2 separate regions of the Homo sapiens genome follow, and region 1 is linked to region 2. The links are contacts of gene promoters, found by promoter capture Hi-C in human tissues and cell types (Jung and others, 2019). All regions are on one chromosome and are shown on one strand. The core of a region is centred on a gene start or on the middle of the fragment in contact, and the rest is flanking DNA. Distances in the headings are between cores, read along the strand shown. Region 1 overlaps GSK3B-DT (GSK3B divergent transcript). Region 2 holds the start of GPR156 (G protein-coupled receptor 156).

Region 1 (5,938 bases), core at 3,376-5,875, 190 kb after region 2:
AGCATGTGCGTGTCCTCATTTGGCAACTCCCTGTTGATGAATTCTTTTTTTCCCACTAGATGGTTTCTCTGGTGCTTAGAAGTACTTCACTTTAACTCCTCTCATGCCAGATTAAAAGCTTAACCTCCATAGGATAGTTTGCTTCCTCAGAGTTCCAGCTGATATGGCTGTGTAAGATATTTGTTTTTAATTCTAAAAGGGTCCAAGAGCCTTTGGCCTTGGAAATATTTTTAAAATGCAGTTGAATAAACCAGTTAGGTTTTAAAGCATATACAGCAGTTTTCTCAATTTGTTGCAAGCAAATGTTTCCCACCATATGTGGCACAGACCTGGGCACACAGTAGACAACAAGCACTTCCTGGTGGAATTAGGATATTCGTGTCTTTTCATGTGTTGTCCAACACAGGCCAGCAAAATTTATGAAATTCTATATAATCATATTTAAAGTCCTTAAGGATAAAAAGTACAATTGGAACACTTTTGATAAGAAGACTAAAAATGAAAACTGTATTCAAATTGTCAAGAAGTGGTTAGAGAAAGTAGAAGTGTACTCAACTGTCTCGGACATGTTGAGTCCTCAAAAAAAAAAAAAAAAAAAAAAAAAAGAAAAAAAACCAGACTGGGTATAGTGGCTCACACCTGTAATCCCAGCACTCTGGGGGCCAAGGTGGGAGGATTGCTTGAGGCCAGGAGTTCAAGACCAGTCTGGACAACGTAGGAAGACCTCTGCCTTTACAAAAATAAAAAAATTAGCTAGGTCAGTTGTGTGCCTGTAAGTCCCAGCTACTTGGGAGGCTAAGGCGGGAGGATTGCTTTATCCCTGGAGGTAGGCTGCAGTGAGCCATGATCACACATCTGCACTCCAGCCTGGGTGACAGAGCAACAAATTATCTAAACAATAACAACAACAATAAAAACAAACAAACAGAAAAGAAAAAACAATCAGAGTTGATATTTTCCTAAGACTCCTAACTGGTCCTAAGAGTAGCAAGATTTAGTTAGGGGAATAATGGTTATTTTTCCTAAATTACTACTTTTATCTTCAAGTACTGAACACTACTAGTGCATACACAATATACATTGTAAAAATAAAGAACAACAGCACCAGCCTGGACAACATGGCAAGACCCTGTCTCTACAAAGTAATTAAAATAGCTGGGTGTGGTGGCATGCACTTGTAGCCCCAGCTACTGCGGGGGAAGGGGGCAGTGGCAGGGCATGGCTGAGGCAGGAGGGTTGACCTGAGCCCAGGAGTTTGAGGTTGCAGTGAGCTATGATCACACCACTGCACTCCAGCCTGGGCAGCAGAGCGAGACCCCATCTCTAAAAATAAAAATAAAAAAATAAGACAGCAGAGATAGTAAAACATCTTAAAACTGAGCTATAAACTCTCATAAGGATCCTTTCTGGTTTCATATCTGGCACTTCATACTACTGTCTGATCTAGATGTTACAGAGAAACACATTCCTTGAGGCTTTGTACATTCCTTCCCATTTTCTTTCAAGATTCCATCCTACAGGGCACAGGAATGAAGCATCCTGATACAATTCAAATAAAGTTTTGGCCTGATTAAGGGAGACCAGTCCTCTCTGCATTCTGAAATTCCTTTTTGGATGATCCATAGGAGGTCTTACTTTTTTTTCACTTCCCTGCACCCCTGGCCAAGGATATTCAATATCCAAGAAACCAAATACCAATTTTCTTGTAGCTTTCACATTTCCCATCAACATGACATAGATTAAAGACCAAAAGACTTCTGTTCCATTCTGAGAGATGTGAGTCCCATTTCCATGTGAAGGAAATCTGACCGTTCCCGATTTACAGCTACTGAGGGCCTAAAATATTTGTTCTGAGAATTTCTCAGGCCTATATTTATTACATTTTAATGCACATAAAACAAAGCTGAATTCCTAGAATTTGCTGTAAAGAAGTATACTTCAAGTATTCAATCAACACATACTGTTTTCAATTCATTTATTCAATGTGAAAATATTTACACTCTTGTATAAAAAAGCTCTTTTCAAAAAATGTGAATGGAAATGAGGTAAAATAAATAAAATTGAAGTAGTTCAAAATAATCTAATCGGTAATAATATAGTAAACCACATGATTATACCCTTAGAAGTAAACATGTGACAAGCATGAAAAACTAAAAGGATTTGTTAGAGGCATGTGAACCAGAGCAACTCCATCTTAAACAGGAGCCGGGCAAAATGAGGGTGAAATCTATTGGGCTGCATTCCCAGATGGTCAGTTAAGGCATTCTAAGTCACAGGATGAGATAGGAGGTCAGCACAAAATACAGGTCTTAAAGACCTTGCTGATAAAACAGGTTGCAGTAAAGGAGCTGGCCAAAACCCACCAAAACCAAAATGGCGACGAGAGTGACCTCTGGTCGTCCTCACTGCTACACTCCCACCAGTGCCATGACAGTTTACAAATGTGCCATGACAGTTTAGACCCTATGTGGTCCAAAAAGGGGAGGCATGATTAATCCACTCCTTGGTTAGCATATCATCAAGAAACGACCATAAAGAATGGGCAACCAGGCCAGGTGCGGTGGCTTATGCCTGTAATCCCAGTACTTTGGGAGGCCAAGGCGGGCAGATCAACTGAGGTCGGAAGTTCAAGACCAACCTGACCAACATGGAGAAACCCTCACTCTACTAAAAACACAAAATTAGCCGGGCGTGGTGGCGCATGCCTGTAATCTCAGCTACTCGGGAGGCTGAGGCAGAATTGCTTGAACCTGGGAGGTGGAGGTTGTGGTGAGCCGAGATCACGCCATTGCACTCCAGCCTGGGCAACAAGAACGAAAACTCCATCTCAAAGGAAAAAAAAAAAAGGGCAACCAGCAGCCCTCAGGGCTGCTCTATGTAGTAGCCATTCTGTTATTCCTTCATTTTCTTAATACTTGCTTTGACTTTTGCACTGTGGGGTCACCCTGAATTCTTTCTTGTGTGAGATCCAAGAACCCTCTCCTGGGGTCTGGATCATGACCCGTTTCCTGTAACAGATTCAAGTGTTTTTCTTTTATTTTCTATAGTATACTCCTTTAAGATGTCAAAATCAGAGTATTTATATAATTTGCCAAAGGCTTGATATGCAACTTTTCATACAACCAGTCTATTTCACAGTGACAGTGTTTCAAACACTCTCCCTCTTCTTTTTGGGTAGTCATTCATTAATTTCCCATTTGGGCACACCTCACTGGTTATAAGACACATAACCAACTATGCCACATCTTGTTACTCTGGGCATATTTTCAGCAACAGGAAAAACCACAGTGTATGTTACTTCAGAGGCTTTCCTATAATGGTAATGTCTTACATCTGCTAAAGTACCTCTCCACTGTCTACAGGACAAAGCCCAGTTTTTTTTTTTTTTTTTTCCTGTAACAAAGCTCCCTCAAACCTACCTTTTCAACCTTATCTTCCATTAGTCTTCTCTATCAGCTTTTTGTTCCAGCCAAACTGGTTTTCCCAAAGTCAGAAGAACAGAGTCACACTGTCCTTAATTGCTGTTACAGCTCCACCCACATGCAGGTTTACTAAAGAGAGGTTTTATCTGATGGGTTGAAATTGAAGTGATGGAAAGTAATTTACCTCCCCTCTTCTTTCTTCATCTTCAAATCCTACTACTCCTCCTTTAAGATCACTTTAGATTGAAGTGTCCTCCACTCACCTATTATAAATAGGAATGCATGGGCAATTTATTTTAAACTTTGTAGTAACAACCATATTAACAAATTATAGGCCAGGCATGGTGACTCACGCCAGTAATCCTAGCGTTTTGAGAAGCCATGGCACGCAGATTTTGAGCCCAGGAGTTTGAGACCAGTCTGGGCAACATGGCGAAACCCCATTTATACAAAAAATACAAAAATTAGCTGGGTGTGGTGGTGCACCCTTGTAGTCCTAGCTACTTGGGGGGCTGAGGCAGCAGGATCCCTTGAACCTGGGAGGTTGAGGCCGCAGCACTCCAGCCTGGAGGACAAAGTGAGACCCTGTCTCAAAAAAATAAATAAAAACCAAATTATGTTCTGTCTCATAACTTTTATCAATTCAAAATGTGATTTTTATAATTTATTTAACTTTTCATGTAGTTGCTTCCCTAGAGGGTAAACTCCCAAAGGACACTGATCCTCTCATCCACCTTATATCAGATGCCTAGCAGGTGTCTCAAATATAATACTTACTCACTATTGTCTAGTTTTACTATTTTAACTTATATGACAAAGGATTATCATAAAAATTTTCGTTGGAAAGCTTTGCTGAGAAATGTGAATTTTTTTTAAGAATTCCATTGTAATTAGAGGCTTCTGAGGGACATGTGAATCATAGTGAAGAAATAATATAAATGTTATTTTTTGGGCCAATTCCCCTTAAAATCAAACACAGAGGTGGGGTACAGTGGCTTACACCTGTAATCCCAGCTACTTAGGAGGCTGAGGTGGGAGGACTGCTTGAGCCCAGAAGTTCAAGGCCATAGTGAGCTATGACTGTGCTACTGCACTCCATCCTGGATAACAGTGAGATTAAAAGATAAATAAAAGTAAAAAAATAGAAATTTATTATAAAAATACTAAGCAAAGACATTTAAATATTTTCATTTATATTTAAATATGTTATTGACGAGTTATTCTAATTTGTCTTCCTTTCCAATCTTGATCCAAATGTACTTATATTTTACAGATTGGAAATATGGTAGATATACAACCTGAAGTTCTATATTTTTCAATTAGTATTGTTTCCTAAACATATTTCTGAGTTACTTTTGGTGGTTGTATTTATTTTTACTGGCTGCCTAATATGGAGTTAATACAGCATAGTTTACTTTACTCCTCTATTATCCTGTGATATTTTCCTTTATTTTCTCTTGGCCCACATCTTAGACATTACATAATTTCAAACTATCTCAAGGTCTCCAAATACCTTGTTAAACATTTCAGCCATTGCATAACCTTTTCTCTTTGCCTGGAATGTTCTTTCCTTCCTTATCCATCTGTACAACTGTACAACTATTCTTTGTCTAAACTAGTGGTTCATAAACTTTTTTTTTTTTTTTTTTTTTGAGACGGAGTTTTGCTCTTGTTGCCTTGGCTGGAGTGCAATGGTGCGATCTCAGCTCACTGCAACCTCCACCTCCTGGGTTCAAGCAATTATCCTGCCTCAGCCTCCCAAGTAACTGGTATTATAGACGCCCGCCACCACGCCCAGCTAAGTTTTAAAGTTTTAGTAGAGACGGGGTTTCACCATGATGACCAGGCTAGTCTTGAACTCCTAACCTCAGGCGATCCACCTGCCTCGGCCTCCCAAATTGCTGGGATTACAGTCATAAGCCACCACTCCTGGCTTGTCCATAAACTCTTGATCTTGAGCTAACATGATATGCACATTATAAGATACACACAGAAATAAAAAAAGGATTAAAGGTGCACTATTTTAAAGATAAATTTCAACCGGCCCGGTGTGGTGGCTTACGCCTGTAATCCTGACACTCTGTGAGGCTGAGGCAGGCAGATCACCTGAGGTCGGGAGTTCGAGACCAGCCTGACCAACATGAAGAAACCCCGTCTCTACTAAAAATACAAAAGTAGCTGGCATGGTGGCACATGCCTGTGATCCCAACTACTTGGGAGGCTGAGGCAGGAGAATCACTTGAATCGGGGAGGCGGAGGTTGCGGTGAGCCGAGATCGCGCCACTGCACTCCAGCCTGGGCAACAAGAGTGAAACTCCGTCTCAAAAATAAATAAATAAATAAAGATACATTTCAATTATTTAAGGTCCCAAACCATTTTGTTTTCACCCTCCTACTGCTATCGGGCCCCTAACAATTATTAACACTTTTTCCAATGCCTCATTGGCCAAGGGATGTTTTTAGGTTGGCCTGCAGGGTTTGAAAATTTGGTTACCAACATTTAAAAATGCAGAGAT
Region 2 (5,798 bases), core at 1,527-4,026:
CCCACCTAATGAAGAGGAACAGGATGGGGCACACTTAAAAAAGCAGTCTGGCCACATTTCTGTATAGCAGCTGTGCTGTGCTGGGGGTCCACTTCAGCTCCTGGTCACCTCAGACACTCTACAACCCAAAGGCTGGAAGAGCTAAGTCAGCCAAACAGCAAAGATGGCAGCCCATCCCTCCCTCTAAGAGTGCCATCCCAGGGGGAATTCAGATCTCTGTCACAGCTGAAGAGCTCAGGCAGGGTGGCTGGAGGCCCTGGTTGGGAGGTCACACCCAGTGAGTAGGAATGGGATTGGGCACCCACTTAAAGCAGCAGTCTGGCCACATTTTGGTAGAGCAGCTGTGCTGTGCTGGGGCATCCTTACCGCCCCAGGTCGTCTCAGACTCTCCAAACCCTGAAGGCTGGAACAGCTAAAGCTCCTGAACAGCAAAGATGTTGGCCTACCCCTCCCCTGGGAGCTCCTACTTAGGCAGGTGCTATGTTGCTACTGGTAGCTGGGTGGAATTCCAAGCCAGTGGGTCCTGTCTTGTGTGAGGTGTTGTGGAAGTGGGCCCTGCGGGCTGTTGCTGCTCAGCCCTCTGGATTCAGCCTCTTTCTTAGGGGTATGAATGGGAGTCTAAACTCCCTCTTTGTGGGAGATGCAGCTACTTTTGCCAGAACGCCCAAGTATCTAAGCCTCCAGGGTCTCCACGCATGCCTGAGTGGCTGCTTTGCTGAGACTCCATGTAGCCCTGTCTGCCAGACTGAAGACTGAAGGCCCTGCTGCTAGTGGAGTGGATTCACAAGGAGATCTCCTGACAGGAGGGTTGCAAAGATCTGTGGGAGAAGCATGGTTTCCGGGGTCGCTCATTCACTTACCACTTCCCTGGGCAGGGGAAGATCCCCTGGTTCCCTGTTGCTCCCAGGTGGGCTGTTGTCCTGTCTTGCTTTTCCTTGTTCTCTGTGGGTCAGGTTGTTTCCTTGATTAATCCCAATGCGAGTACCCGGATGTTTCAGTTGAAGGTGTTGTATCTACTCGTCCCTTCTGTTCCTCTCCGTGAGAGCCATGTACATTACCTGCTTCTGGTCAGCCATCTTGGCCACTCCCCATCCTTATGAAAGTTTACACTGTATTACAATTGCACAGGAAAGTTACTGCAGGTTTGGGAGTGGGACAGAGGATAGAGGATGTTGGCTTGTTTTGTCAAGAGAGTGACATTCTTAAGTCTATGTTGGTGGTGGGGACAGATAGGAGGCAAGAAAATCAGTTAGGAAATTATTGAAACAATTCAGCCCCAGATAATCGAAGCTTATCAAGAGCAGCAGTGTGAGAATGCAGAGAAGTGGACAGTTGCCAGAAACATCTCAGAGGTAAACATGGCAGGCCTGGAAGATGAAAACCTTCAGTGCCTGGCAACTGAGGGGTTGGAAATACTCCAATCTCAGAAAAGAGAATACTGGGATTGGAGGTGGGGGCCAAGCTGGGAGAAAGATTTCAATGTCTTGCAGAATATAGAGAGGGGTTGATGAGAATAACAGCCGAAGAGCCCAGGGGAATTCCCAGGTTAAAAAAAAAAAGCCCCACAGAGATCAGAAGGGCAAATCCTCAATCTAGAGCCACAGAAGTGAAGATTTGGCTCTAGACTCTGAAGTCAGCTCTCCTACGGAAAAAAGATGGACCCAGGCCTTTTTAACTCAGGCAGCCCCCATGGAGGAGAGAGATGGTCCTCCTCAGTTTCTGCACGTTCCAAATGAAAGGGTCCTTCTGTGTAGAATGAGAGATCTGGAGAGTCCTGGGTAAAATCTCAGACATAATTCTTTCTTCTGAGAAACCAGCTTTTTGCTTACTGCCTTGAGGAAAACCTTGTCTATCTTTCTTTCTTCCTCTTGTTTTCCCCCTCAGTAGAATCCTGTGAAAAGAAGTCTTTGGGTATCACAATGTGTAAAACAGTTAAGAATGTAGCCACTGTCTTGTCACAGTGGGGTCTGCGGACCTGGCCTCTCTCTTCCCGTCCTCTACAACCAAAGATTTCCTCTGCGCAGTTGTAAAAATGTGGAATGTCCTAATGCACATAAATAGGTCTGAGATTTTAAAATAAATGAAACAAATATAATATGGAAAGTCTAAGTGGATTCCCAAGACCATTTCCAGGTCTCCCCTCTATGTTTCTCCTTGAGGGTGTCTTAAACACAACATCTCACACATATTTTTAAGCGGAAGACAGTGGGCTGGGTGCGAACATCTTGTTTGTGGCCTCCTGTAAGCATTCTTGGAAAAAGAAACGTACTTGTCTTTCTGATTATAAAATAAGCAAAAGCTCAACGTAAAGAATTTGGCAACTCCAGAGAGTATAAAATAAGAAAACTAATTGGTAACTCCGACGCCACTCCAGAAATAAAAATGAGCATTCGCGGAGAATCCTTCCAGTCTCCTTACCGAGGCCGGCTAGGGACCTGAATCTGAAGCTCCTCGCCCCGGGGCCAGCTCCTGCGGCAGCCGCTGGCTCGAGGCCCGGGAAGGGGCGCTGAGGGGAAGGCGCCCCCCAGGGAAGGTCTCTGAGGAGACGGCCGGAGGCGGGGCCGCCCCAGGGGACTCGGCGGCGACGCAAGGAGAAAGATCCGAGGAGCTGGAGGAGCCGTGAGGCGCGTGGAGTCTGCAAGGTCCCGGAGCCCTCCCGGCCCTCGCGGGAGAGCAGGGTCGAGGCGCGCCACGCGGGCGGCGCCAGGGAGGGGCGGGCAGGCGTGGCTCAGCCAGTGCCCCGGCCAGAGGCGCCCGGCGCCCCGCGCACACCTCAGAGGCCTGCGCCGCCGTCCCGCCGCCTCCACGCCAGGCTCCCGGCGCGGCGATGGGCGCGGGCCCCTGTCTCTGCCCCGGCCCGCCCCTTCCCGCCCCTTCCAGCCCCGCGAACGCGCGAGACGCCGGGGGACCGTGGGCGTCCTGCACATAGCAGCGGGCTTGGCGCTTCTCGGCGGTCCGACGCTGATGAGGTGAGCACAGCGACCTTAAGGATCCACAAAACTTCAAACACTTAATTATTAAGTGAAAGTGGAAAGGGGGAGGGGCTTTCTCTCCCTTTCCAGAATCTGGGCAGTTTGTTTGGAACCGGTAAAGAAACTCTCATAGGAACTTGAGGTGAGCAGGGGTCACGCATCAGGGATGCGAGTGGCAATTTCAGTGGAAGAGACGGGAGAGTACTGTAATTTGGTGTGAAGATGGGGCCGTGGGTTTTCTGCTGAATAAGCGACCGGCTGTGCTGAAAATGAGAGATCCCGAAACAGTTTCCCACCGCCTGTAGACTTTCCAGAGTCTCCTCACGCCGAATCTGCTTTGCAGGGCATGTTCACCCCCAGGGTGTAGAGTGGCGGGCACGATGGGCTCCCCCATGGAGATTGCAAAGTCCTGAAAAGGGACAATTGTATTGCACTGCGTCTGTTGAACTGCCTTGCTTCTGGGCATGAGGGAGTCACCTGGAAGCTGCAACATCCTTGTACCCTGGCAAGCAGCCCTTTCCAAGTTAGCTCTGTCAGAAACTAGAGGCCTCTAGGTAGAACTCAAGGTATCCATGTACTCGTGAAGAATACAAACCTTGAGGTTTTTAAAATCGAATTTTGTTAAGATTTCAGGATAGAAATCTGGGAAGAGAAGTCATGGCATGGCATAACTTACCCCTTTGTTAGTTTTCTAGGTACATGCATGCTTGAATTAGAGGTAAATGATGCCCTAGCCTATCATAAAATGTCTTTCCTGGTGTAGTTCTTTAAACCAGAATATGGAGGATAACATTACATTTTTGCATCCTAGATAAAAGGGAAAGATTTTCAGATGGGGCTTACACAGCGGGAGAAATTGTTGATATAGTTGTATTAGGCAGCAAGGCCTGCAAAGAAAAACTTCTTTTTCTCCACCAGTGGCTGAATTCTGCACAGAATGTCTCCTCGCAGTCTGGGTAGCAGCCCGGCTTGCAAAAACAGTGCTTCTTTCATTGCTGCAGGTGGGGCAAATGCGCTTGCGGATAAATGGCTGGGGAAGCGTTTGCTTACAGGTTAAGGCAATTTGAGTCTGGAGAATAAAGTGCTTTAGCAGGCTGTGCTTGAGTTAGGTGTCCCTTGTGAGGAATAGAGGTGGCTTTCTGGTCCCCATTTTGCCAGCCTAATTCCCCTTCAGGGACACTACTGTCTCTGGAATGTTCCCTCTGTTTCCCCTTCTCTTCCACCCCCAGCTTTTAGCTTCTCCCCATTCCCCAGTAAAGTCTAGAATTGAGCCTGGTCAGAGTCAAAGTTCTGATAGCCTAGGGATATAGAACTTCAAGCCTGGTGAAGGCAGAAATGAGACCTAGGAGAGACCCAAGATGGGTGAGATGAAACAACTTTCAGCCTAGAAGGCTCTCAAAAGAGTGGAAAAATAATGATTGAGGGAAACAGATTCTCTGGAAAGGAGAATAGGTGCTTAAGTGTTTGTTTTCAGCTGAGGGTTTTAATATTTCCATTTTTGTTGTTTAACCATAAGGGAATTTCCATTATAGGGTAGGAGGAGGATGAGGCCTTCTCTGAAAACTGCATCCTTCTCCTTGAATTTGCATTTTATTCCATTCTTATGTAGGTTTCAGAGATTAATTGGGGGAAGGGGGAGAGAGGAAAGAAGCCAGAGGCTCTGACATGCTGCAGAAACAGTGCAACGTGGACTGACTTGGGCTGCAAAGGTGGATTTGGGGGTTGAAAGAAATGTTCTACATTTAGTTGAAAAAAAAAAATCAGAGCCTTTATTTTGCAAAGGTCTTGAGAATCAGAACATTCATGTTTAGTTGCTGATGAATTTTGCCTGATAAAGGATGCAAATCACTATCTCACCTTTTTTTCTCCAGTACTTTATTATGAAAAATTTTAGACATACAGAGATGTTTTCTACCTCTCATTTTATAAACTTATTATCTTAAAACAAACTTGTTAATAAAAATCAGTGTTTAGAATCCAGACATATGTGATCTGGTCCTGGACAGAGCTTGAATCAGAAGGTGTTTCAAATATAGATGTGTGAAGGATATTAACATTTTAAGAAAAAAATATGGATCTTATTCTTCTGACTTTCCCATAAGAATCTTGAGCAGACCCCTTAACTGCCTTCTTTTTCCCATTCTTAAAATGTCAGTCAGTTGGATGATATTACTCTCCTGCTTAACACCCTCCAATGGCTTCCCCTCACACTGTGAATAACATTCAACTCTCCACCAGGGCTTGTGATTTGGTCTGGTGCCCTCATATTCTATGGCCGTCCTCTTGCTTACCATCGTCCTTGCTCTTCCCTCTGCCTGAACACTCTTCCTTCAGACACTGCCACTGCTTCTTTTCTCAGCTCATTCCAGTTTCTTTTCATACTCTCCAGAATGATGGCCACCTGATCTAAAACAGCCTGTGGTCACTCCCTGTCTTCTGACCCTGCTTTATCCTTCTTCATGGCACTTAGCACTCCCTGACACTATATAGTATATGTGTTTCCTTGTTAATTGGGCATGTTCCCCACTCTAATGTAAACTCCATCAAGACAAGGAATTTTTTTGTCTTATTTATGGCTGTGTTCCTATTTGGTATATTATGAGCAATTAATAAATAACTGTTGGATTAATTAGGTAACTAAATTACACAAATAAGGCATTGACTCCCATAAGGGTGGCAGAACCCTTGGTAAAATACTAGAAGTCCTTTGAGGTAATTCATAATTCAAGTTAATCAATATTTGATAGGTAAATGATGACCCTGGAGATCAGTGGCCTCTTTTATCCTCACAGCACTTCTCAGCTGAATCCTATGCTAATAGCTGGC

Evidence for each region. Contacts are between HindIII fragments. The study calls those that stand out against the background at their distance.
Region 1: a fragment that was not itself captured here is called in contact with the fragment with the promoter of GPR156 in region 2 in 1 of the 25 tissues and cell types used here (aorta).

Annotation. Positions count from the first base shown.
Region 1 is chr3:120,096,461-120,102,398 of GRCh38, reverse strand. The region is part of intron 1 of GSK3B-DT (GSK3B divergent transcript); the gene reads right to left. Among named protein-coding and RNA genes, the nearest start is that of GSK3B-DT, 4.3 kb to the right of the region's middle. The HindIII fragment of the contact is 4,861 bases long and covers 2,195-5,938 here.
Region 2 is chr3:120,282,200-120,287,997 of GRCh38, reverse strand. It overlaps GPR156 (G protein-coupled receptor 156), which reads left to right and starts at 2,776. Exons shown (of 10, transcript NM_153002.3): 1 at 2,776-2,969. LOC124909418 (a long non-coding RNA gene) reads right to left here and starts at 2,842. Exons shown (of 2, transcript XR_007096029.1): 1 at 861-2,842. The HindIII fragment of the contact is 13,353 bases long and covers 196-5,798 here.